6 separate regions of the Homo sapiens genome follow, and all the other regions are linked to region 5. The links are contacts of gene promoters, found by promoter capture Hi-C in blood cells and fetal thymus (Javierre and others, 2016). All regions are on one chromosome and are shown on one strand. The core of a region is centred on a gene start or on the middle of the fragment in contact, and the rest is flanking DNA. Distances in the headings are between cores, read along the strand shown. Region 1 overlaps CCDC88A (coiled-coil domain containing 88A). Region 2 overlaps CCDC88A (coiled-coil domain containing 88A). Region 3 overlaps CCDC88A (coiled-coil domain containing 88A). Region 4 overlaps CCDC88A (coiled-coil domain containing 88A). Region 5 holds the start of CFAP36 (cilia and flagella associated protein 36). Region 6 overlaps CCDC88A (coiled-coil domain containing 88A).

Region 1 (4,334 bases), core at 1,726-4,225, 190 kb after region 5:
ATTTATTTGAGACAGGGTCCAGCTCTGTCACTCATGCTGGAGTGCAGTGGCACAATCATAGCTTACTGCAACCTCGAACACCTAGGCTCAAGCAATCCTTTCACCTTAGCTGGGACTACAGGCATGCACCACCATGCCCAGATAATTTTTTAATTTTTTTTTTTATTTTTTGGTAGAGACAAAGTATCACTATGCTCCCCAGGCTGGTCTCAAACCCCTGAGCTGAAGTGATATTCCTGCCTCAGCCTCCCGAAGTGCTAGGATTATAGGTGCCAGCCACCATGCTTGAGCATTAATTTTTTTAGAAGTTAAATTATTTGTTTATATCATCCAGGTACAGTCCTCAGACCAGCCATAAAAATGAAGGTTTCTTTAGAGATACAGAACCAAAATTCTAGACTAAGCTTCAATCTTCATTTTTCCAAGCTTGTTGAGATTATTTAACACACTAAATTTTGAGAATCATTGTATTAGATCACGCTATAAATTGGATGAATTAGTTCCCAAATGTACCCAGTGATTTTTGTGATTTTGATGCTTCCTACTTAGAATTCTTTTTGGGAATGAATACACACACATACAAACCCATATATACACATGTAATACAGCACATATTTACTGAGGACCCACTGTAGGCATTGCAAAGGTTACTTAGTAAAAGTAGAACCTTATGTTCTCAAGGAGGTATGTGTGTGTGTTACCTGTATTCCTATTTGAATTTGAAGCATGTAACTGTAAATAATCTGAAGACCATTATGATTAATAGAAAATACATTTCTCAACCGTTCCTTTAAACTGTGAACTTCCTAAAAACATGAACTTTAATGACCTCACAGTAAGTGTACACAGTGGTCTTCAGTAAATGACCTCACAGTAAGTGTACACAGTGGTCTTCAGTAAATACTTGTCAGAATTAAAAGTAAGACATGTTCTAGCACCCTTTTTTTGTTCCCCTTTTCTTGGTAGTTTTTGGAAGAGATAAACCATAGTTAGTTTTTCCTCAATTACAGCTTTTAATTATTTTCTTTTCAAATTAGATTAAGATACTGGAACAGGAAAATGAACATCTGAATCAAACAGTGTCTTCCTTAAGGCAGCGGTCCCAGATAAGTGCAGAAGCAAGAGTGAAAGACATTGAAAAAGAAAACAAAATTCTTCATGAATCTATCAAAGAAACAAGTAGCAAGCTAAGCAAGATTGAATTTGAAAAAAGACAAATTAAAAAAGAATTGGAACATTATAAAGAAAAAGGAGAACGAGCTGAAGAACTTGAAAATGAATTGCATCATCTTGAAAAAGAAAATGAATTATTACAGAAAAAAATAACTAATTTAAAAATTACTTGTGAAAAAATTGAGGCCTTAGAACAAGAAAATTCAGAGCTAGAAAGAGAAAATAGAAAATTAAAAAAAACATTGGATAGCTTTAAAAATCTGACCTTTCAGTTAGAATCCCTAGAAAAAGAGAATTCCCAACTTGATGAGGAAAACTTAGAACTGCGAAGGAATGTAGAATCTTTGAAGTGTGCAAGCATGAAAATGGCTCAGCTACAGCTAGAAAACAAAGAACTGGAAAGTGAAAAAGAGCAACTTAAGAAGGGTTTGGAGCTCCTGAAAGCATCTTTCAAGAAAACAGAACGCTTAGAAGTTAGCTACCAGGGTTTAGATATAGAAAATCAAAGACTGCAAAAAACTTTAGAGAACAGCAATAAAAAAATCCAGCAATTAGAGAGTGAACTACAAGACTTAGAGATGGAAAATCAAACATTGCAGAAAAACCTAGAAGAACTAAAAATATCTAGCAAAAGACTAGAACAGCTGGAAAAAGAAAATAAATCATTAGAGCAAGAGACTTCTCAACTGGAAAAGGATAAGAAACAATTGGAGAAGGAAAATAAGAGACTCCGACAACAAGCAGAAATTAAAGATACCACATTAGAAGAAAATAATGTGAAGATTGGAAATTTGGAAAAAGAAAACAAAACCCTATCCAAAGAAATTGGTATATATAAAGAATCTTGTGTCCGTCTGAAAGAACTAGAAAAAGAAAATAAGGAGCTTGTGAAAAGAGCAACTATTGATATAAAAACGTTGGTTACACTACGTGAGGTAAATATGTTTACCTAAATTAAGGCAAATTTTTTTTTATATTTTTAACTCAAGGTTTCTTTAAGTTTTATTGGAATCTATCAGTAATTTGCATCATTTATTTTATGGTTCAGTAGAATTTTGGAATTAGAACTAGAAATAGCTTCCAAGTTTCCTACTTTGTTAAACTAAGAAATACCTATAAATTGTATTTTTAAAAGAATTTGTAGTAATAAAGTTTCCTAGTGGTATCTGACTTATTACATTATAATTTTAAACCTTTATTTCAATATAATAATGTTTGATCAAGACACTAAATTCTAAGTATAATAAAGAAGCATGATAGCTACTATTTATTGAGTGCTGTGTGCCAAGTACTGGGCTAAAAACTTCATATAAGTTGTATATACATAAATAATATATACACACACACCCAAATATATATACACACATATATACATGCACATAATCTTTACAACTAATCCTTTATAAGTATTATATCCATTTTTTAGATGAGAAAACTGAGGTTCAGAAACATTAAATAAATTAGGATCACACAGCTAATAAATAGCAGAGTTGGATTACTGGATTCAAATCCAGATTTTTCAGACTCCAAAGCCCCATGAATTTTGACCTCAAAGCCAGAGAATGCAAATCAGGTTCAACCATTCAACACTGAGCAACTAGTATTTGCTTGAATCTATGTATCAAGAAGAATTCTGAAACTTACAGGAGTAAATTGGCAGTATGTCCTGTGAAACATGGTTGATGCAAGTCAGAAGGTATATGTTTGGCTCTTTTTTTCCCATCTCTAAGCATTATAATATGTGATAACCCTTTAAGTTCAATTTAAAAGTATATTAGCATTCTGGCAGAAGGTCACATTGGGCAGTCTGCATTTCTGCTAAAGAAGCATTGAGAGGGACCTTTTATTTTTTTCTTCTGTAGACTTATAAACATGAACAACAAGTTCCTTGTGCCTAAACTTCTAAGAACATCCTCTAGTTCTTCAGATCAGTATCATAGGGCCTCTTTCACTGGGAGAAGGGATCTTGTGGGAGAGAAGTATTATAGTCAACATATATTTATAAGAAGAAATGTGCACTAAAGTTCAGGCTCATTATTAAAAAGTAAATGGATATGATTTTCCCCAGTTTTCAAACCTAAATGTGTATTCACAAGTAAAGAGTTACTACTCCCTTTTAAGGTTTTGTTTAAAGTATTAGCAAAAAAAAGGAAAAAAGTTATTTCAACTAGGTTATAACTTTAACTACATTTTAATAATGAAGGAATGGTTTAATGACATTTCCTGGTTCAAATTACATGTATTCCTAGATGGTGGTAATTAGAATCTTAGCTGACTTTCTTAGATGTTTATACCCTTGACACTTAGGTGAGTTTTGCATTTCTTTTAAAATAAGGATTTGGTGAGTGAAAAGTTGAAGACCCAACAGATGAACAATGATCTCGAAAAATTAACTCATGAGCTTGAGAAGATAGGGTTAAATAAGGAGCGACTCTTACATGATGAACAAAGTACTGATGACAGGTGAGTACTAAGTCTACTTGGCAAACAGTTGAAAATTTTTTTTTTTTTTTGCTCATACATGAATTCTTTCTGTACTAGCTATAGAAAACATTTATATATTTCACCCTATTTCTGGTTCCTTCCTTCCCTTAAGGAAAGTTCTGTAGCCGGGTGCGGTGGCTCACACCTATAATCCCAGCACTTTGGGAGGCTGAAGCGGGCGGATCACCTGAGGTCGGGAGTTCGAGATCAGCCTGACCAACATGGGGAAACCCTGTCTTTACTAAAAATACAAAAAAAATTAGCTGGGCATGGTGGTGCATGCCTGTAATTCCAGCTACTCAGGACGCTGAGGCAGGAGAATTGCTTGAACTTGGGAGGCTGAGGTTGCGGTGAGCTGAGATCGTGCCGTTGCACTCCAGCCTGGGCAACAAGAGCGAAACTCCATCTCAAAAAGAAAAAAAAAGAAAGTTCTGTAAGGAGAAAAGAGGAATCATAGACAATCTAATATAGATATAAGAAAACAAAAAACTAAAATGTTACTATATAAATACAGTTATAAAATAGGAAAACAGGATGCCACCCAGGTAGCAGAAGATCAGAGGCTATAATTGACTGTAAAAACAGAATAAGACATTAACAACAAACAAAAATAAGCAAGTTATTTTTTATTTGAATCATGTGCTTAAATATCTCTGTTCTTTATTTGCCAAAATGTT
Region 2 (4,347 bases), core at 739-3,238, 230 kb after region 5:
CGTGATCTCAACTGCCGAAGGAACTACACGAAGGACAAGCATCCATGATTTTTTGACCAAGGACAGTAGACTGCCTATATCAGTTGATTCACCACCAGCTGCTGCTGACAGCAACACCACTGCAGCATCTAGTGAGTACCATTTACACCAGTGGTCCTCTCATATACTTGACATCCCAACACATACTATAGGTTCTTGTGCCCAAAATGATTTAGCTATAGACATGCCTGAGCCTCTATATGCCCAGGCTAGAAACTCAAGAACAGGAAGGTCACATTTTCTAAACCAAACTTTTGCCACTATTAGGATGCCTAGTGATGCATTCGGAATGTTGGCAAAAGATAGCATAGGACCATTTACTGTGGCCCATTCATCTCAGCCATTCTTATCCCTGAATACAGAATTAGTTAGTAACATAAGTGGGTTACCTCCTAGGCCAGTTATCAGAATAACTGACCAGGCTTCTGCCTCTTTGGATAAACCTGCACAGAAAGAAAATGAACAGTTTTCTGATCATCAGAACCCTAGTAACAGTAACCTACAGTTTTCTATAAATAGCAACAATCTTGTCACTTCTGCATGCCTCTATCCTGATGACACAGAAGCTGCATTGTTGGTTTCTGAGGATAATCAAACTGTTTGGTATGAATATGGTTGTATATGATCAAAACTGCACAATATAATATATTGATGTTATTTGATATACACTGCTTCTCTAATATGATTTGAAAAGTTGCTGTTAACAAAATATCATTTGGCTAGGTTTTTATTTTTTATTTAAAATTGTTGCACAGTGTTCAGCTGTACATGATGGCATGTATATTAATGTGAATGTGTAACCACACCAAAACCTGCATGAAATATTAATTACTTTGTCCATTTTCTGCATGCCTTTAAAAACCTTAACCATACATGCTCCTCCTTCACATTTTTTGTTGCCTGATAAGATTGTTACTTTGATATCCAGAAGCATGTTAAAACAGTTGCATGCTCTCTTACCAAGAAGACATTTCCAAGTCATATTTGCTTTGTTGCTTCTGGAAAAAAATGTTCATTTCCTCCCTCCCTTCCTCCTCTTCCCACCCCTCACTTGCTCTGACTGTCACTCCTTTTTTTCTTCCAGAATGTGTACTTTATATTACATATGTACAGTATCAGTAGGGAAAATGTAAAAAGATGTTGTTTTCTTTTGTCATTTAATTAGGCCATCTGTCCTGTTTTAAAGAAATAGTTAATAATTCAACACTTTATATAACAAATATTAACTAATACCCATATTTATAAAACATTTTTCAGATTTAAAAGATTGTTAATACTTATAAACTTAGTGTTATTCTTAGAAAACCCCATCAAATTTAAATGTGATTTACACAGTGACTAGGAACATTTGTATTTATTGTTTCTTCTCTGCACTTTTCATCATCTGATAAATACAAGAGCTCAAGTAACTGTCTTTTCTTCAAGATGGCTTCTATACTTGAAATCAGTTAATACAATAGTTTTTCCAGTTCTTTTTTTATAGAGAGTCAAAGAGAAATAAACCAAATTATATTCATTGTGTTGGAAATTTGTATTTTTACTTCTAATCAAAAAGGGTAGCAAGTTTACAAAGTGGTAAAAATTGTTACTTCTATAATTAATCTATTATTAAATTATACATGTATATCCTTAAAACAGAATTTTTTTTAAATGAATAATCACACTAAAATGTAAAATTAGAACTTGTAACCATTTAAACAAGTATGTTTCTAGTAGAACAAATTTTAGAACTAAGAATAAATACACTCTTTAGCTTAAAAAAAAAAAAAAAAGTAAGAAAATATTTGTTAACTTTGACTCCAGTGCAAAGAACTTTTATTTTTGTGTTCACAGCACTTTTAAAGCAAATTAGCTAAATTTGAATCTCTAACTCCCAGATTGCTAAAAACAAAAAAACCCATAACCCTGATCCATTTACTTCCAGAGAAATACACATTGGCATTCTCTCTGGAATGTTTTTTGCCATTTGGATTTAGCCTATAGCTGATAAGGACTCAGCCTGGCACCTGGAAGGAATGCCTTCAAATGTGACCATGTGGGGATGAAATTATGTTATACTTGTTGTTGTTGTTGTTGTATTAAGTGGTTATTAACTGGACCAAAGAAAAAATCTGTAGAGAATATTTCCTAATGAAATTTGTCTCCTTTGTAATCACACTTTTTTTCCGATAGCTATTACAAAAAAAAAAAAAAATGGTTCTGGTACAGGTAATCAAATGAACACAATCAGAGGATTGTCATATTTTAGTACCACCTAATATACTTTTTGCATCCTTCTATTTTATTGTCAGTTACTTCCCAGTCAGTCCTGACATTTCAAATATATTTGGTGCTAATATTTTCCCTTTTGTTTTTTCATAGGCCAGTAACAAAACTTAATAGTAAACATAGCTGAGATTAAATGGGGGCAGTATATGACACAAATGTTATAATTAGTGTTATTTCTTTTCCACACTGAGTCAAAGATTATTTCACAGCTATTTCAACTTTTTAGATATCATAATTCTGACCATAACACTTCAAAATATTGTATTTATTCATTCAAAATTCATTGAAAAATCACATGCTATTATATTAAAATTATGTGATTATTTTACAAAATTAGACTTACAGAAAAGAACTATTTCCTACCCAAAAAGCTATATGTTTATATGCAGCATGTTTCCAAAAAAAAAAAAAATACACTGTGCATATAAGAGAAATATGTATCATGTCCATGTGTCCTGAGGACTGTTGGAAAATACAGTCTGGACTTCAGAAATCATCACCTGCTGTGGAGTCATAAAATTCCCCCCAAAACACCACTAGTTCTTTTTGTTTGTTTGTTTGAGATGGAATCTCACTCTGTAGCCTAGGCTGGAGTACAGTGGCGTGATATCATCTCACTGAAACCTCTGCCTCCTGGATTCAGGCAATTCTCCTGCCTCAGCCTCCCAAGCAGCTGGGATTACAGGAGCATGCCACCACGCCCAGCAAATTTTTGTATTTTTAGTAGAGACGGTGTTTCACCATGTTGGCCAAGCTAGTCTCCAACTCCTGACCAGCTTCCCAAAGTGCTGGGATTACAGGCGTGAGCCACTGCGACTGGCCACAACACTAGTTCTTATCAACGTTTTTTCATAGCATTTGGAATCAAATTTTTAGTGGTGAAAATACCTTAGAAATCATATGGAACCGATGTGTCCCAAACATTTAAGAAAAAAAACAATACTTTCTGTAAGTGAAATCTTACATAGATGCCCCAAATTTTAAAAAATGAATTTCATTTAAAGTAAAAGTGAAACAACTCTGACTCAATTGAGCAATTGCACTTATTTCCTCTAAGACACCTCCAGTTTTCAAAAGGATTATTTGTAAAACTATTCGAAGATTCAGTACCCTAATTTTATAAATGATGAAGCTGGATAGCTTTCAGTATTCCTGGCCTAGCTTTCTAGAAATTATAAACATATTCTTATGCACTGCATCCCCTTTGACCAAAGCAATTTTAGCTTTAACCAATGTAAGGAGGAACATTATTTGCCTATAAAATATGCATCAAGCCCTGGTTTTCTTAGTAAATAATACAAATACTTCATTCCAGATGGTTTTGCTACTACATGCAAGATTATGTTTAAGACTGTAGGTGACCATTTAGTAAATAAACATAGTAAGGCTATCTGGCACTAAGAGGGGGGGAAATGTAATTGTTATAGTTTTTTTAAAAATTATAGCTTTCCTAGGAATATTACTTATAGCTTTAAAATATAAAAATCGATCTTTAAGTATTGAGATGCCTATGAGATTAATAATTTTCCCAGACAGTTACAGATTCCTTCTCCTTGCCCTACTCAGTGAGAGTGTATTTCTTATCTTCTGAATTGTATTTTGTTTCATCTTTGACTAAATAACATGAAATGCTTTTCTCCTGCAGATGTGGACAAAGTACAAGAAAGCAGAAATTCAAAAAGCAGGTCTAGGGAGCAACAAAGCTCCTAATTCTATTACCCACTACATGACATGTGGGCCAAGTGGTGAGTTTCCTGCTTAAAATGTAAATGAGATTAGTCTCATTTATACAAACTAACCAAATTAAGTGTGAAACAAGTGCACATTGCATTAACAGATGTAAATATTGCTTGCTTAATTCATTGACTTTCTGTTCTACTTACTAGTGAAGCAAGATTAGTTGGCTGCCATAGGTTTTTACCTGTCAGCGCAAGGAACAAGTATTTTTTTTTAAGTTTTTTTGTCACTTTAAATTTAATTTTACTAGTGAATTATGTTCTAGGAATTACTTTTTTAGTTTGAAGCCTTTTGTGGTAGGAA
Region 3 (4,594 bases), core at 1,247-3,746, 200 kb after region 5:
TAAATTTTATATATTAAACACATCTAATGTTAGTTTACATAAGAAATTTATATAAATTTACATGTGTTTTAAATGATACTCATTACTCATTTCCTTCATTTCTAAAATTTCTTTTTTGTAAATATTATAAACCAAATGCCTTTTTTCCCCCCAGTTACAATCAGTTATTAAAACAGAAAGGACAGTTGGAAGATTTGGAAAAAATGCTCAAAGTAGAACAGGAAAAAATGCTGCTTGAAAATAAAAATCATGAAACAGTAGCTGCAGAATACAAGAAACTTTGTGGTGAAAATGATAGGTAATAAATATATATTATATATAACAAACATTTTATATAGAAAGTATATACATATATATGTGTATATATATGTTTTTTCAAAATTATGTATTATTTCTTACATCCAAACTATATACTGCCCCTTTGTAGTACCAAGCATAGTTTGAATTCGGAATTTTAAAAAATAGAATAGGCTGGGTGCAGTGGCTCACACCTGTAATTCCAGCACTTTGGGAGGCCGAGGCAGGTAGATCACCTGAGTCAGGAGTTTGAGACCAGCCTGACCAACATGGTGAAACCTCGTCTCTACTAAAAATACAAAAATTAGCCAGGCTTGGTGGCGTGCACCTGTAGTCCCAGCTACTTGGGTGGGTGAGACAGGAGAATTGCTTAAACCTGAGAGGCAAAGGTTGCAGTGAGTCGAGATCGCGCCACTGCACTCCAGTCTGGGCAACAGAGTAAGACTCCATCTCCAAAAAAAAAAGAGAGAGAGAGATAGGATCTTACTCTTTTGCCCAAGCTGAAGTTCAGTAGCATGATCATAGCTTACTGCAACCTCAAACTACTATGCTTAAGCAATCCTTCCACCTTAGCCCCTCAGGTAGCTGGAACTGCTGGCACACACCACCATGCCTAGCTAATTTTTAATTTTTTTATTTTAATATTTAGTTTTTGTAGAAATAGGGTCTCCTGTGATCCCCACGGTTGCTCACAAACTCCTGGCCTCAAGTGATCCTCCTGCTTCTACCTCCCAAAATGCTGGGATTACAGACATGGACCATCAATAACCAGCCAATACTTTCTTATTAATACTTGAAACTTTGAGTACCTATACTTCAACATATTTAAAGACTAAAAAATTCTTTTCCCAGTGTGGAGATGGGTGGATGAAAAAAGGAAATTAAAAATTATTTTCAAGGGAAAGGTACTCAGAATTTTAAAAAATCTAGTTTTTACAGAATAGAAACTGATTTTTGATAAGTTTAGTAACTTGTAAAACAGTCTTTTATTCTAAGTATGCCTTAATGTTATTTATATCATTTCATATTGTATAAATTACACCAAAAGCTATTAAGATAATCTAATTATATTTCTATGATTTCTAATTATAGGCTGAATCATACCTATAGTCAACTTTTAAAAGAGACTGAAGTTTTACAAACTGACCATAAAAATTTGAAAAGTCTTCTGAATAATTCCAAACTGGAACAAACAAGATTAGAAGCTGAATTTTCAAAACTAAAGGAACAATACCAACAATTGGATATTACATCAACCAAGCTGAATAACCAGTGTGAGGTGAGCTTAAAAAGTTTAATCACTGTGTCCTTCATTTAGGCACCAAGACATGCCTAAGAAATAAATGACTAGATTACAATGACAATACTAGTATATATTTAGTGGCATATATCTAAAAGAATTTGGTCTAGGATCACTGAAACTTACATGTAATTCAGAACAACTTCCCATATCATTAATTACAATATTTTAAAAACTATTAGCTTAAACTTATGTCCAAATTCTTTGAAAATTGTAAAATTATTCATTTAATGAAAAAATGTTTACACCTGGCATGAAATTATAAACCAATAGAAAAATTAGCTGGAAACAACATACAATTAATTACCCAACAAAGCTCAGAAAGTAATTCATTCTACCTATGATTTATAAAAGTCCAAATAAATTATAGGATGGTATACCTCCAGAATGGTAGAGTGAGAAATGTGGCAAATCAACTCCTTAAGAAACAATAAAATTGGACAGAACTGTCAAAAACAACCTTGTTAGGACTCTAGAACCCAACAAGGGCATATAGCAAATTGAGAAGCATTTATTAAAGCAAAACTATTCAACCCTGGGAAGGAACTGTGGTTGTCTGAGGCATTTTATCTTGGGGTTCTTCCCATTCCTCTTCTCCTTCCCTGGTTCCTGTGCCTGGTAGTTTTGACAGAGCACAGGGCAAGCTGTGAAAAACAGCAACTTTTCTACTGGAGAAAACTGACTTGATTTGGAACAGAGCATAGAAAAGCCCCATGCGTGGGAGAGCTGTCAAAGGTCAGCTCTTAGATAGCCTGAGGTTGAAATATTGGTTGGGGCAAGTAACAGACCAGTAAACCAGTCAAAAATTAAAGGATTTTCAAGAAATGAGTCAGCCTCAGTGGGTCTTCATAAGATTCCACATGTCACTGGTGGTCCAGAAAACTGTTCAAGAGAGACCAGAGAGGGCCCTAGCTATCTATGCATCCCTGGCTAATTCTCACAATTTGGGTCAAATGTTAATTATTGGCTGAGGGCTAAGTCATATAATGACATGATTTAGTGGAGGTGGAAAAAACTAATCTATAGTATAAAAGGTTGAGATAGTAGTTAACCTTGGTGGGAAGGGATAGTGGTTGGAAGATAGCACAGGTGTTTCTGGAATACAATTAATGTTCTGTTTCTTGATCCAGGTGCTAGTTTAACATATATGTTTACTTTGTGATAATTCATTGAGCTCTATATACACTTAAAATTTGTTCTTGGACCAGGCACGGTGGCTCATGCCTGTAATCCCAGCACTTTGGGAGGCCGAGGCGGGTGGATCATCTGAGGTCAGGAGTTCAAGACCAACCTGGCCAACATGGTGAAAACGCATCTCTACTAAATATACAAAAATTAGCCAGGCGTGGTGGCACATGCCTGTAATCCCAGCTACTCGGGAGGCTGAGGCAGGAGAATCGCTTGAACTTGGGGGACAGAGGTTGCAGTGAGCCGAGATCGCACCACTTCCCTCTAGCCTGGGCGAAAGAGCGAAACTCCATCTAACAAACAAACAAAAAAAATTGTTCTCTTTTCTTTATATATGCTTTATCAGTTGTCTATTGACACTGATAATGCTCTTTAACAACGAGACAACCTTAGTGGTAATGGACAGTAAACATTTCTTTTTGCCTAATGAGTCTGAGTTTGCTGAGCATCTATGCTAATCTACTCACTGATGTATGGGCCAGGGGTTTGCTCCTGCATCTGTAATTAGCTGGCATGTACGCTGAGGGCTGGCTGGTCTATGGTGGCCTCGGTGGGATAACCCTTCTCTGTTCCATGTGGTCTCTCCATCCTCCAGCAGGGCTCTGAGAGTCTGAGTGGAAGTCCACAGGCAACTTGAGGCCTAGACTTGGAACTGTTACACCATCACTTCCACCTCTTTCTCTTGGCCAAAAGCATTCCAAATTCAAGAAGAAGGAAAATAGATTCCACTTCTTTACGGGAAAAGTGAGAAGTCACATTGCAAGAGGGCATAGGTACAGGGAAGAAAATAAATGCATTCAGTTTTTTAATGAATCTACCACATATGTTATGTTTCAATTTAACAACATACAGATAAATAAAACCAACGTAGTATGATATTCACAGTTACAGATCTAGATGGTTGTTTATGATTATAGTATAATTCTCCCTGATTTTCTCTACCTTTTGAAATTTTTCAAAATGTTTATTTTTTGCGGGGGGCGGCCGGGGTGGTGGTGTAGGCAGGGCGGGTATGTGTTATTTGCTTTTGCTTTTTTAATACAGATCTCTGGGCTCTACTCGAGACCTGAATTTGAATGCTGGGGCCCACAAATCTACTCTACAAGGGACGCCAAATTTTTAGAATCACTACTTTGGGCCTTCTGCTAACTTCTGTTTGAACCTCTGGCCTAGCTAAGGCATATTTCCAGTTTCTACTAACTGCGTAGAAAAGGCCCAATGCTGCTGGCAGCCCACCTACTAGTAATGCCAGCTGTTAATACCAACTATTGACTAAATTACCCGATTTCCCTTGATCAAGCTACAAAAACTATACACAGACTTTTAAGGTTTCTTGAAAACCGTGAATGGATGCCAGGCGCGGTGGCTCACGCCTGTAATCCCAGTACTTTGGGAGGCCGAGGTGGGCAGATCACCTGAGGTTGGGAGTTAGAGACCAGCCTGACCAACATGGAGAAACCCCATCTTTACTAAAAATACAAAACTAGCTGGGTGTGGTGGCGCATGCCTGTAATCCCAGCTGCTCAGGAAGCTGAGACAGAATAGCTTGAAACTGGGAGGCGGAGGTTGCAGTGAGCCGAAATCATGCTATTGCACTCCAGCCTGGGCAACAAGAGTGAAACTCTGTCTCAAAAAAAGAAAACAGTAGATGGGGAAATTATGAGACATACTAAGTACTTAGTGTGTGCTACACACATGCTACTAGATACTTTACATATGCTAATTAATCCTTGCAACAGCCTTGTTGGGTGGGAGCTATCCTCATTTCATAGATCTGAGAACTTACTTGTCTAACATTTCATAGAAATA
Region 4 (4,686 bases), core at 1-2,500, 140 kb after region 5:
TTTGCATATCATCAGTGTCAGTGGTTGTAATGGCAGATACAATGTATTTCTTCATTTCTTCAAAGAAGAGGTGGTATAAACAGAAGGTGCATACTTGATGTATTAACTAAATTGAAGAATTAGAAAGAATTCAGTTCTTTCTGAATCACCTTGTACGTTCAGAATCTACATGTATTCTTGTAACTAAAGTTTTATAGAAGTTAAACATCTGTTGTAGAGGAGAGAAATAATGTTTCACTGAGGAGGAACTGACTTTCATGAAATGATCATTAGACAGCATTTTTAATAAAGCAGTTAGGTTTCTTAATTTTAATATCAGTTGACATTTTAAAAATATAGCTCTCTTATTTATTATATTAAAAATATGGCCTGGTGTGGTGGCTTATGCCTGTAATCTCAACACTTTGGGAGGCCAAGGCGGGTGGATCACTTGAGGTCAGGAGTTCATGACCAGCCTGGCCAACATGGTGACACCCCATCTCTACTAAAAATACAAAAATTAGCCAGGCATCGTGGTAGGCGCCTCTAGTCCCAGTTACCTGGGAGGCTGAGGCGGGAGGATTGCTTGAACCCAGGAGGCGGAGGTTGCAGTGAGTCAAGATCACACCACTGCACTACAGCCAGGCTGACAGAGCGAGACTCCATCTCAAAAAAAAACCCAACATATTTATACATACATACATATATATATATATATATATATATATATATATATATATATATAGTACAGTGACAGTACTTATAAATTTGATGTATTTTTAGTTTCCTCAGTGAGAACTAACAAGAAGAAAAAGAGCACACATGCTCGAACTTTTATTGAGGAATGTTTCTTAATTTTGCTCGATCTTTTACTGAGGAATGTTTCTTAATTTTCTAGCACCTAAAACTTCAGATTTCCAAATAATAATTAGACCATTTTGACTTGAATGCTTTAATTTGGGGACATCTGATATTTTTAAAGCTTTTTTATTATTATTTGTTTGTGTGTAGAGATGAAGGTCTCACTATGTTGCCCAGGCTCATCTTGAGTGATCCTCCCACCCTGGCTTTCCAAAGTGCTAGGATTACAGGCATGAGCCATCGCACCCAGCCTCATATATTATTAACTGAAGTCTATCTGGTATTATAATTTTAGTTATTTAATTCATTGAAGTTACAAAAGATTTAAGACCTTATATAACTTTTTCCATATTTGTTTAATTGCAATATAGCACACCTACAGAAGAATGTACAAATCATAAGTTATAGCTTGATGAATAATTATCTAGTTAGCATTACCCATATAACAAGTGTTGGATATTTTTTTACAGGAGACTTTGCAGCAATTGATCATGATGTCGTTGCCAAATGTCTTAATCATTGGCAAAAATCCCTTTTCTGGTAAGTATTAAAATTAAGCTGTGAAAGTAATGTCTAACCTTTGTGTAATACTATGATGTTTATTTTTTACTAAGAGCTTATATACATTAACTCACTAGATTTTTCACAACTGTAGACGTTGGAGGTGATGTTCCATTTTATAGAAAGAGACAAGCTTAGAATATTTGTAAGTTATAGGTAAGACCAGACATAAATTTTACATTAAATTCAGTATTTTTTCTACTATACCAAACAGATACTTTTGTGATGATTTTTAGTGTCTCATTATAGAGAAGTATAGAAGATGATGTAGTTACAAACTTAAAAGAATATTACCTTAGAAAAGAAATGATTTTGAAATAATTTCCAGGTTTCTATTCATATATCTACTATCTACCATTGCCAAAATTGTTTGAATCTTAAGTTTTACTGATTGATATGTTTTATTTATTTATTTATTTATTTAGAGATGCAGTTTCGCTCTTGTTGCCCAGGCTAGAGTGCAATGGCATGATCTTGGCTCACTGCAACCTCAACCTCCTGGGTTCAAGCGATTCTCCTGCCTCAGCCTCCCAAGTAGCTGGAATTATAGGCGTGGTCACCATGCTAATTTCTGTATTTTTAGTAGAGACAGGGTTTTACCATGTTGGCCAGGCCAGTCTCGAACTCCTGACCTCAGGTGATCTGCCCGCCTCGGCCTCCCAAAGTGCTGGGATTAGAGGCATGAGCCACCACGCCCAGTCTGATATGTTTTAATTTATATTAAACTTCTTCTGAATGGAAAGATGAGAGGCAGTTTCTTAGATCATTTAATTTTTTCTTCAAAATGTTCTGCCCTTTATACCACATTTTAAATGTGATATTTTAGAATTGTAATTTTTGAACAGTTGAGGAAATTAGCAGCTACCTAACAGTTTCAACAATGGGCTTATCCTTACAGTCTACATGTTATCCAAATTAGTGTATTTTCTTCAGCCCATACCCCCTCTCAGTCAAAACAAACAAAACCAAAATAAAAACTAAAATCAAGTAGCTATTTTTATAGAGGAAACTATTAATTAGATGTGTGAATTAGCAGCTTAGTTTTTAGAGATACCATGGGATGTTTGATTATATAAATTTAAAAATGAAAAAAATTGCGTGTAGGATGGAATTGTTTCCCATCGTACATACATTTGGTAAGTACCTACCAAGTTACTGGGACCAGGAGTGGAAATAAATGGTCTATGTTCTAGAAGCTCTTATGGTTTGGTGAAGGATACACAGATTATGGGGAAATCATGTAATAATTAGTATGAAGTAAAAATATGTACCAAATGTTCTGGCATATAAAATTTGGAGCCATTAATTATTCTTAAAGTTGACGTATAAGTGAGAGTGGGGGACCATTGATGATTGGATCAGGGAAGACTACACAGAGATGATAAGAGCTGTGCCTAGGATTGTGATTAGCAAGTAGTTCACTAGGGGGATGAGGAGGTTGGGGAAGGAGGACAGACAGAGGGAGTAGTATTAAGGCAGAGGAGTTGTATATATGCATATTTGGGAAGAATGGTGATTAATGGCTCAGCATAGCTAGAAAGTAGGTTGTTTCATGGAGAGTAGAAGGAAATGTCTGATAAGAAGATTTGGACTTTTTCATAGACAGATTGGCCCAGTGGTGAAAATCTGGCCCAAAGAAGTGATTTTTTTCCAGTTGAATATTTTAAGAAAATCTTAGTTGAATGCTGTTGGACAGGGAATATTCTCTCCATTTCTGTTATAGATTGTTAACTTTTACCTGACTTGTTATATACATTTATTTTAACAGCCTCACTGTAACAGACATTTAAGATTCTGGTCTTCATGAACTTGCACAGTGGAAAACCATTTAAATTTTATAAGGAGATGAATCATAAGATCTGTGTTTTAAGTAAGAAAACACTAATAGGCCTAAGAGGAGCCAAACCTATTAGGAGCCATTTTGGCTACCTTTGTGGCATGTCCCTGTATCAACCTGATTTGGCAGGTTCTTGATTTGTCAGGCTGGGGTAGTACAATCATTTATGGAAAAGGAGTAGATTCATAGTTAGCATACTTGTTGCACAGAGCCTTGAAACCTCTTTATCCATTAGCCCTTCAAAATTGATATTCTTCCCCATTTCTTCTGCTGTTACCACCGTGTACATACACAGAGCTGCTATTTTGAATGCTCCACTACATATGCTTAGACTGAATCCTTCACTCAAGTTACTGTGCATAATTACCTCTAGAAGTGATTCTCCAAATATAATAGAGTTGAAAATATAGCAGAATGTTGTCCTTAATAATTGTTTCTATTTTAGAACAAGGCACAGAAGAAGTTAAAAAACTGCTTTTACTTTTATTGGGTTGTGCAGTTCAGGTAAGTTAAAATATTTTTTCATATTTTCATTTTAACAACCTCTTTATATATTTTTATCAGGCTGTAGTTTCTGAAAGACTTAAGGATGGACCATTGGTTTTCAAAGTCCATGTTAGAAAATTTTCAATAACTGTATAACCTCCTAAGGAGATTACATTGAAAAAAACCACTTATTTTATTTCAGAATTTAGTTACATTATCATAGTCATATCATTTAAAATATTTAATTACTCTTTTCCTTATTCTGAGGCTTATAATGACCTTAAATTTTTGAGGTTTTTTCAGAGGTGCCCTTAAAAACCGCTCCCAAAACATCCTTGTGATTTATGTTGTACTCGTGTATGTTTCAGGAGAAGGGAAGGGAGAAGAGAAGGGAAGGGAGGAGGCAGAATTTATTTAAAAGAAAAAAAAGGTAAAAAAGGAGGCAGAATTTATGAAAAGTGTTTTAGGAATCTTGTTTATTATTATATTGCTCTTTGATCAATGACTATAATAATAGCTATGATTTATAGAATACCTACTTTGTGTCAGATATTATCCCTTACATAGATTTTCTCATAATATCTTCTTTCAGGTCAGGAGATTGGGTAGGGTAATATTTAAGTTTTTATCGAAATTGGGACACTTGCGAAAGTCAAAGAAGGTACTGTTAATAATTATAGAGTGGGCTAGGCGTGGTGGCTCATGCCTGTAATCCCAACACTTTGAGAGGCTAAGATGGGAGGATCACTTGAGGCCAGGAGTTTGAGACCAGTTTGGGCACATAATGAAACCCCATTTCTGTTTTAAATACATATAATAATTACAGTGGAATGGCATGTGTAAACTGGGACTGTCCCAGGCAAACCAGGATGATTACTCTAAGTTTAAATTTAGGTCATATTGCTAGTAGTCCAAAGAACTGTGAGTCAACTCTGCTCTGACTTCAAAATCTATTATACTAT
Region 5 (4,686 bases), core at 2,187-4,686:
TAGGCATGAGCCACCACGCCTGGCCTTTTCTTTCTTTCTTTCTTTTTTTTTTTTTTGAGACAGAGTCTTACTCTGTTGTCCAGACTGGAGTACAGTGGCACAGTAATGGCTCACTGCAGCCTTGACCTTCTGGGCTCAAGAGATCATCCTCCCACTTCAGCCTCCCAAGCAACTGGGACTACAGGCACATGCCATCATGACTGATTAATTTTTGTAATTTTTATAAAGATGGAGTTTCACCATGTTGCCCAGGCTGGTCTCGAACTCCTTGGCTGAAGCAATCCACCTGCCTTGGCCTCCAAAGTGCTGGGATTATAGGTGTGAGCCACTGAGCCCCACTGCCAGAGGCATTTTTTAAAATCACAAGACAGGCTGGGCAGTGGCTCACACCTGTAAACCCAACACTTTGGGAGGCCCAGGCAGGTGGATCACTTGAGCTCTGGAGTTCCACACCAGCCTGGGAAACACAGAGAAACGCCATCTCTACAAAATACAAAAAAATTAGCAGGGCATGGTGGTGCACACCTGTAGTCCCAGCTACTCAGGTGGCTGAGATGGGAGGATCGCTTGAGCCTGGGGAGGTTGAGGCTGCAATAGGCTGTGATAGTGCCACTGCACTCCAGCCTGGGTGACAGAGCAAGACCCTGTCTCAAAAATAAAAAATAAAAAAATCACATGACAACCATGACGAAGTGAATAATTAATATGTCCCTGGATGCGTCAACAAAATAAGAATAAGATATAAAGAATACATGCAAGAACCCATAAAGAGTTGTAAAACCATTCCTTAGAGTAGAGGAGATAAGTCATCCAAATGAGATATTCAGAGCACCTGTGGAGACAGATATAACTGGCACTATTGTTAAGGTAGATTGGATTTTTGTAAAATTAAGGATTTTTAATGTAAAAATATTTTTCTTCATTTAGAAAAGCTATAAGTAGTATTAGCCTAATTACTTTTAAAAATCAGTGAAAAAAAATACTCACTAGTTCTTTGTATTCCTGATGAATCTCTGTATAGGTCAATTTGCTTTCTTCTTCATCATCAAAAACTAAATTTAAAAGAAAATATTACATAGTGTAAAAACCAAATCATTTTATTAATGCAAATTTAAAAATCCACTCCTTCCAAATAGAACTGTCAACCTAGCTCTTCAGCTTTGAATTCTTAGGGTTTATCTTTTAAAAATATATAAATGAATATATCTAAAAATATATACTATTGGCCGAGCACTGTGGCTCATGCCTGTAATCCCAGCACTTTCGGAGGCCAAGGTGGGTGGATCACCTACGATCAGGAGTTCGAGACCAGCCTGGCTGATGTGGTGAAATCCCATCTCTACTAAAAATACAAAAATCAGCCAGGCGTGGTTGTGCGCGCCTGTAGACCCAGCTACTCGGGAGGCTGAGGCAAGAGAATTGCTTGAACCCAGGAGGCGGAGGTTGCAGTGAGCCAAGATTGCACCACTGCACTCCAGCCTGGGCGGCAGAGTGAGACTCCATCTCAAAAAAAAAAAAGAAAAAAAAATATACACACACACACACACACACACACACATATATACTATTAATTGTAAACAAGCTTTTTTGCCTACTTGAGAAAATATTTAAAATGAATACTACCTCATATTTAAGACAAAAACACATTTCAATCAATATGAGGCAATAATTTCTTCATAACTTTTAATGTAATATTATTGTTAATGGTTAAATCCTTTTACAATAGGTTCCATATTATTTTATTGTACTGGAATTTTGCTGATGTAAATGTTACTGAAAGTGACCAGGCAATTTTTGTTACCACAGATAAATAATGAAGTTAAATAAAATCAAAACAAGTGTTTACTGAATGATCATATGTATAAAACAATGCAGTGAGCCAAGATCACGCCACTGCACTCCAGCCTGGGCAACAGAGCGACACTCTGTCTCCCAAAAAAAAAAAAAAAAAAGGAGTACAAATACAAGTTATTTTGTTTTTGAACATTGTTAAAAAATTACCTGTAAAAATAACACTTTAATAACTACGATTTGAATATTGATTATAGCAATGAAAATGTAATGAAAAGATTCAGTGGTCAAACTGAATTTCATCTTTACCAGATTCATGATATCTTGGAATTTAAAGAAGTCTTAAAAGGTCATCCAGGATAACCGACCATTTGATAGCTGAATAGCTGAATCCCTCTAACCCTATTAAGTCGCTATCAGATCCATTCAAACACTGCTGGAGCCGGGAAGCTCATTACCTTCTGAGGCTGGCTAACTCATCTTGGATACATTCTATCATGAAACACTTCCTTCACTGAAATTTGTTTCCCTGTAGCTTGTACCAACTGACCCTAGCTCTATTCTACTCAACCTTACAACACAAAGCAGATGTTCAAATAATTGATGAATACTACTACCCTCAAAGTCTTGCCCGATTAAACAACCACAATAACGCTTGGGCACTCATTTATATGACGTGGTTTCTGGTTCCTTTTCTGCGAATGGGCTGCAAATAGTCTCCACGAACTGAATGCAGAACTCCAAGCCTGAAGAACTGCTCAGAACCCGGAGATGCCTGTCCTTCACGGGGAATATTATGCCATATCTATACGCCTCATTTGTTCCAAGAATGGTCCTGCCCCACCTCGCCAATTTTTGGTATAGCGAAGAGTAGAGAGCTCACCAAGGGGAACACAGGCCACCAAAATCACCGGCTCTGGGCTTCCTGGAGTTATCACATGCCCTCCTTTGCAGTTAACTGTTGGTTTGGAGTGAAATCATTTCTCATTTCCTAAGCTGACTACACCGGGCGAAATGCTAGGGATCATAAGGAACTCAGGTAAACCGACGCTTCTCCTCTCAAGTCTGGCAAAGCTGTTGAAGAAGCCCAGCCAAACAGTCCACCTGCCGAGGGCAGAAACGTTCGGGACAGGGTGAGAGACCGAATTTACGATTCAAGTCTAATGTTCTTCGGACGTGCGCTTCGGCCCCAGAGAAGGGGAGTCTCGGTCCCCGTTTTCAGGTCTGCGAAGGAACACATTGGCAGGGTGAAAGGAATTCCTCCCACACAACCAGCTCTAAACCTGATGACGCGGGTGGAGAAGGTGGTGAGGGGAACGAGACCTTGCGACAGGGGTGGAGACAGGGGGTCGGGGAGACGAGAGATGGCTTGTGGTTACCAACCCCCTGCCCGCCGCTGGTGTGAGAGAGGAGAAAAGGATTGTCGGTTCGGGCTCTGGTTTTTACCTTCACATTTCTGTTCCACAAAGTCCAAGATGGGGATGGACCAGTCTGGGCCTCGCAGGAACCCCGCGATGCTCTCCACTACCCACTCCACCTCGTCTTCTTCTTCCGCAGCCATCCCGCCCCAAAGGGGCAACGGGGAAGATCCCTAGGCCAGACCGCCGGACCCCGGTTAGGCCTTTGGGCCACAAGGAGCCGAGAGGGAGTAGGGGAAGAGCTGGCCCGCAGTCGCTCAGCCCCCAGGATAGAAGCTACCAACCAGTTAATGCAAAATGGTCGCTATGGCAACACACGTAGCCGCCCTAGACCGCGGCCCGGAAGTGAAGACAACTTTCCAGGAGCCTGCGCACTTAGCGGGGAGGGCAAACGTTTGAAAAACGTTTCTGATTGGTTAAAAAAGAACAGTGGACGAGGGCTGAGAAAAGAAGTGTAGCTATTGGCTGGAAGTCATAGACAGATTGCGCTCTCTCTTCTGATAAATGCGTAGGAGCCAAGGTTTAGAAAACGCGCAGTAGACGGGCGCGGTGGCTCACGCCTGTAATTCCAGCACTTTGGGAGGCCGAGGCTTGCGGATCACCTGAGGTCAGGAGGTCGAGACCAGCTTGGCCAACATGGTGAAACCTCGTCTCTACCAAAAATACAAAAATTAGCCTGGCGTGGTGGCGCCGCCTGTAATCCCAGGTACTCGGGAGGCTGAGGCAGGAGAATCGCTTGAACCCGGGAAGCCGAGGTTGCAGTGAGCCACTGCACTGCAGCCTGGGAGACTGCGTCTCAAAAGAAAAACAGGAAGAAAGAAAAGAAAAAAGAAAAGGCTCAGTGAGGGTCTGAGGTAACCGGGTCTCCACCTGACAGGGCTTCAGCGGCTGCAGTTCATCATTGTATCCCCAGCACCTCAGTCCCAACCATTTTCAGACCATTGGCCCAGAGGCGTTTGTAATTAAAGGGTTGTCTGAAAATACAAAGCCGAGCTGTGTGAGACTCGCTGATTGTCTTACGGTCAGTTTGCATCTGTATCTTCAGGCGGGTCTTTAATCTCTTACGCTTGGATAAAGATAACTAGAATTAGGAGCTTTTCAAGGGCAAGAGCAAAGTTAATACTCACTTAAATAAATGCCTTGGTAACCAAATCTTATTATAACTCCAACTCAGCATTTAGGTGGAGTCCATTGTGGAATGGGGTCTTCAGTGGTCATTGTGAAGGTGTTTGGAGTCCCAAAATATCTTCAGACAACCATATATATATATATATTTTTTACATAAATAGGATTATATGTACAGTTATGAATTTTTTTCTTATATCTTTATCTTTTAAAAATATAAATTTGTGCTTTCTTTGCAACTGCATAGTATTCCATAAACCATCCTTTAGTCTATTTTTATTTTGTGAATGTGCACACAGTATCTTACCTGAATGCATGAAGATGATCATTATGTGCCTTTTTTTTTTTTTTT
Region 6 (4,197 bases), core at 418-2,917, 170 kb after region 5:
TCCTTTTAGAGTGAACAATTCAGTGGTTTTTTTCATAGAGTTTATTCATAGAGTTGTACAGTCATCACACACCAATTTCTTGTTTTTTTGTGTTTTTTTGTGTGTTTTTTTTTTGAGATGGAGTCTCACTCTGTTGCCCAGGCTGGAGTGCAATGGCGTGATCTCGGCTCACTGCAACCTCTGCCTCCTGGGTTCAAGCGATTCTGCCTCAGCCTCCTGAGTAGCTGGGATTACAGGCATGCACCACCACGCCTGGCTAATTTTTGTATTTTTAGTGGAGACAGGGTTTCACTTTGTTAGTTAGGCTGGTCTTGAGCTCCCGACCTTCTGATCCACTGCCTCAGCCTCCCAAAGTGCTGGGATTACAAGAGTGAGCCACTGTGCCCAGCCCACACACCAATTTCATGACATTTTCATCACCACAAAAAGAAACCCCATATTCAGTAACAGTCACTGTCTGTCCCCCTTTGCCCTCAGCTCCTGGCAATCACTAGTCTGCTTTCTGTTTCCATGACTTTGCCTATTCTGGACATTTTATTGTATAAATGGAATCATACAATACGTGCCTTTTGTGACTGGCTTCATTTATTTAGCATAACGTTTTCCAGGTTCATCCATGTTGTAGCATGTATCAATACTTTATTCTTTTTAGAGTTGAGTAATATTCCACTGAATGGATATACCGCATTTTGATTAGCCATTTTTTGGTTGACAGGCATTTGAATTCTTTCCAGTTTTTGGCTATTATGAATAATGCTGCTATGAACATTCAGGTGCATGTTTTTCTGTAGACATCTGTTTTGAATTCTGCATGTTAACAGATGAATGGCCAACATTCAACATTGTGAACATAATTAATGCTGCTGAATTATATGTTTAAAAATGGTTAAAATGAGGCAGGGCATGGTGGCTTACGCCTATAATTCCAGCACTTTGGGAGGCTGAGGCAAGAGGATTGCTTGAGCTCAGGAGTTTGAGACCAGCCTGGGCAACACAGGGAGACCCGTCTCTACAAATAATTTTTAAAAATTAGGGGTGTGGTGGCATGTGCCTGTGGTCCCAGCTACGTGGGAGCTTGAGGCAGGAGGATCACCTGAACCAGGAGGTCAAGGCTGCAGTGAGCTGGGACTGCACCACTACACTCTAGCCTGGGTAACAGAGTCAGACTCTGTCTCAAATGGAGGAAAAAAAAAACCTGAAAAAAATTCTAAATACTTCTGGGTCCCAAGCAGTTCAGAAAAGGGATACTTAATGTGTTTCAAATGCCTTTTAACTTGTAATGCACTTTTAGAAATCTGTCCTAAAAGCCAGGCACAGCAGTGTGCACTTGTAGTCCCAGTTACTTAAGAGGCTGAGGTGGAATTCTTGGGCCTAAGAGTTCAAAGCAAGGCTGGGCAACATAGTGACATCCTCTCTCTTAAAAAAGAAAAGAAAAAGAAAACTATCCTGAAATACACAGGATTTTATGTATAGTAATGAGCTTATTTACTAAAAGATTATATAGTACAATGAAAAATGGAATCCACTTAGTAAAGTATGGTTTCTCTAGCAAAGGGAATATTTTTCTACCATTAAAAATTATGGTTTTGGGCTGGGCACCATGGCTCATGCCGGTAATCCCAGTGCTTTGGGAGGCTGAGGCAGGAAGATTGCTTGAGGCCAGGAGCTCAAGACCACCCTGGACAACAGAGTGAGACCCCGTGTCTACAAAAAATTAGCCAGAAGTGGTGGCACATGCCTATAGTCCCAGCTATTCCGGACGCTGAGGCAGGAGGATCACTTGAGTCCAGGAGTTCAGGGTTGCAGTGAGCTGTGATCATGCCACTGCACTCCAGCTTGGGCGTCAGAGTGAAACCCTGTCTCTTAAAATATATACATACATATATTTTAATAATATATTTTAAATAATATACACATTATATTTTATAATATATATTAATATATAATGGTTTTGAAAAATGTAAGGGCACGAGATGAGAACAATAAGTTCTATACAGTGAACATTTACTTTATTATTAAAGAACAGAAGGTAGAAAAGTAGAGATAGTAAGTGGAGGCTTATTTTAAGGAGCTTGACTGTGAAGGAGAGAGAGAAAATGGGAGATTAGAAGTAAAGCAATTCTAAGAGAAAAACTAATAGAAGAAATTTGAGGATGTTTATAGGCTACAGGGCAGAAACCAATAGCGAAGTAAAGATTTTAGTATCATATGGCAATTGGAAGTATGTAATTTCCTTTCAGCCATTGTAAATGTTGAAAATAGTTGGAGACCCTTACAAATCTTAGACACAGGTAGAACTGCCTTGCATAAAAATTCTTAGCTTAGGCTGGGCACGGTGGCTCACGCCTGTAATCCCAGCACTTTGGGAGGCCAAGGCGGGTGGCATCTGAGGTCAGGAATTTGAGACCAGCCTGAGTAACATGGTGAAACCCCGTCTCTACTAAAAATAAAAAAATTAGCCCGCATAGTGGCCGGCGCCTGTAATCCCAGCTACTGAGGCAGGAGAATTGCTTGAACCTGGGAGGCAGAGGTTGCAGTGAGTCAAGTTTGCGCCATTGCACTCCAGCCTGGGTGACAGAGCCAGACTCCGTCTCAAAAAAAATTCTTAGCTTAACTGTCTGTGACTGCAGAGAGTGAGGAAGAGAGAAAGAAGAGTGGAAATGGAAGGGCAGGAAAGATGAAAAGAGAGAAAGAGAAAAACTGTATTACATACTATGAGAACATTAGCCTTTGGAAAACATTAGGGAAGAGGTTTTATTAATGGCATCTAATTATATAAATTCCTAATATCTATCTTTTTTTTTTTATCTTCTAGATTAGGGTTATGGCTAATACTATGTCCAACTAGTTATTTAGTGATGATGATACATTTATATTAACGCAGATGATGATCACAGTTTTCAAAAATAGTATACTTAATGAATATATTTTTGCATTTAAGGGAGGAAAAGACTGAGCAGTTGTTGGATTGTAAACAAGAACTTGAGCAAATGGAAATAGAACTCAAAAGGCTGCAACAAGAGGTTTGTACCTGGAATATCTGTTATTTAGGACCACCAAGTAATTGGAAATTGATTTTCTTCCTTGTAATTTATAACCTTTACTTCAATGCTTTATGTAAATAAAAGAGGTTCCTGAGGCTTCAAGAGATTGGATGACTTTTTCAGAGTCTCTCTCTTCAAAAATGTCAGAGCCAAACTTTCTTCCATATTAATGCTGTTCAAACTCTGCTAAGATTCAAAAGAGCTACTTAGGACTGAGGTAGTTCCACATTTTTCTTTTTGATGTGTTTGGCTTCTGTGGCCTTGGAAGCTAGAACACCTCTACTGTAAACTGTGCTCTTTATGTGTATCTCTCTGTGTCTCTGCTCCCTGATAGTGCTTTATGCTAACTCATATGTAATAGAATGTTTTTTGATTTTTTTCACTTTTCCTATTAAATAAGATTAAAACTTTTTAAAAAGTATCTTTATTTTACAGCAGCTTCTTCTTTTTTCACCTTAAACCAAGAGTAATTAATAGTTCACTTTTACAATCACTCTAATGTTTCATTTTTATTTGGGGTTAGTGTATGAGCTCTTTAATCCATAAGTGCTAAGGATTAGGATAAGGCTGGATAGTTGTTTCTTCCCTTAACTTCCCCATACCTGACTTTAGATGCAGGGAATACTGTAATTGTAGGATCATAAACTGGGACCTTCATAGATAAATGAGACTGGGCTTCATAGTCTTTATTTCTAGACATGCTGGGGTTGCTTTTCTACTTGTTGGCAGCAGGGTTTTTTTTACGTGTGTTGGTTCTCTCTAAAGCAGTAGTTTTCTCTAAAGGTTCTCTCTAAAGCAGTCTTTTTGGTCTCAAGCCTCCTCACCACTGTTAAAAATTAATGAGGATTGGTTTAATGTGGATTATATCTATTGGTATTTACCATATTAGAAACTAAAACTATGAAGTTTTAAAAACTTAAGTCTGGCCAGGTGCGGTGGCTCACGTCAGTAATCCCAGCACTTTGGGAGGCTGAGGCAGGTGGATCAAGAGGTCAGGAGTTCGAAACCAGCCTGGCCAACGTAGTGAAACCCTGTCTCTACTAAAAATACCAAAAATTAGCCGGACGTGATTGTGGGCACCTGTAATCCCAGCTACTCAGTAGGCTGAGGCAGGAGAATCGCTTGAACCCGGGAGGTGGAGGTTGCAGCAAGC

What was found. The method cuts DNA at HindIII sites, captures the fragments that hold promoters and counts their contacts. A CHiCAGO score of 5 or more calls a contact.
Region 1: a fragment that was not itself captured here is called in contact with the fragment with the promoter of CFAP36 in region 5 in 4 of 17 cell types (M2 macrophages, M0 macrophages, M1 macrophages and 1 more); the score reaches 10.4 in M2 macrophages.
Region 2: a fragment that was not itself captured here is called in contact with the fragment with the promoter of CFAP36 in region 5 in 3 of 17 cell types (M0 macrophages, M2 macrophages and M1 macrophages); the score reaches 9.0 in M0 macrophages.
Region 3: a contact is called between a fragment that was not itself captured here and the fragment with the promoter of CFAP36 in region 5, in 3 of 17 cell types (M0 macrophages, M2 macrophages and M1 macrophages). The highest score is 9.4, in M0 macrophages.
Region 4: a contact is called between a fragment that was not itself captured here and the fragment with the promoter of CFAP36 in region 5, in 3 of 17 cell types (M0 macrophages, M1 macrophages and M2 macrophages). The highest score is 8.2, in M0 macrophages.
Region 6: a contact is called between a fragment that was not itself captured here and the fragment with the promoter of CFAP36 in region 5, in 3 of 17 cell types (M0 macrophages, M2 macrophages and M1 macrophages). The highest score is 7.0, in M0 macrophages.

The regions. Positions count from the first base shown.
Region 1 is chr2:55,331,868-55,336,201 of GRCh38, reverse strand. CCDC88A (coiled-coil domain containing 88A) reads left to right here. Exons shown (of 33, transcript NM_001365480.1): 15 at 1,038-2,108; 16 at 3,509-3,636. All of the region lies in intron 2 of LOC124907768 (a long non-coding RNA gene), which reads right to left. Among named protein-coding and RNA genes, the nearest start is that of MTIF2, 65 kb to the right of the region's middle. The HindIII fragment of the contact is 5,094 bases long and covers 429-4,334 here.
Region 2 is chr2:55,291,381-55,295,727 of GRCh38, reverse strand. CCDC88A (coiled-coil domain containing 88A) reads left to right here. Exons shown (of 33, transcript NM_001365480.1): 31 at 1-131; 32 at 3,953-4,052. The coding sequence ends at 4,017. Among named protein-coding and RNA genes, the nearest start is that of MTIF2, 24 kb to the right of the region's middle. RefSeq lists a silencer at 901-1,195. The HindIII fragment of the contact is 5,061 bases long and covers 1-4,347 here.
Region 3 is chr2:55,312,910-55,317,503 of GRCh38, reverse strand. It overlaps CCDC88A (coiled-coil domain containing 88A), which reads left to right. Exons shown (of 33, transcript NM_001365480.1): 21 at 155-298; 22 at 1,390-1,576. It overlaps LOC124907768 (a long non-coding RNA gene), which reads right to left. Exons shown (of 3, transcript XR_007086323.1): 2 at 3,253-3,516. Among named protein-coding and RNA genes, the nearest start is that of MTIF2, 46 kb to the right of the region's middle. The HindIII fragment of the contact is 7,677 bases long and covers 1-4,594 here.
Region 4 is chr2:55,371,508-55,376,193 of GRCh38, reverse strand. It overlaps CCDC88A (coiled-coil domain containing 88A), which reads left to right. Exons shown (of 33, transcript NM_001365480.1): 4 at 1,311-1,380; 5 at 3,684-3,742. Among named protein-coding and RNA genes, the nearest start is that of CCDC88A, 46 kb to the left of the region's middle. The HindIII fragment of the contact is 573 bases long and covers 964-1,536 here.
Region 5 is chr2:55,518,468-55,523,153 of GRCh38, reverse strand. It overlaps CFAP36 (cilia and flagella associated protein 36), which reads right to left and starts at 3,436. Exons shown (of 10, transcript NM_080667.7): 1 at 3,238-3,436; 2 at 988-1,052. The coding sequence starts at 3,352. RefSeq lists enhancers at 2,656-2,905, 4,086-4,135. The HindIII fragment of the contact is 7,670 bases long and covers 1,585-4,686 here.
Region 6 is chr2:55,348,344-55,352,540 of GRCh38, reverse strand. It overlaps CCDC88A (coiled-coil domain containing 88A), which reads left to right. Exons shown (of 33, transcript NM_001365480.1): 9 at 2,942-3,023. Among named protein-coding and RNA genes, the nearest start is that of CCDC88A, 69 kb to the left of the region's middle. The HindIII fragment of the contact is 9,265 bases long and covers 1-4,197 here.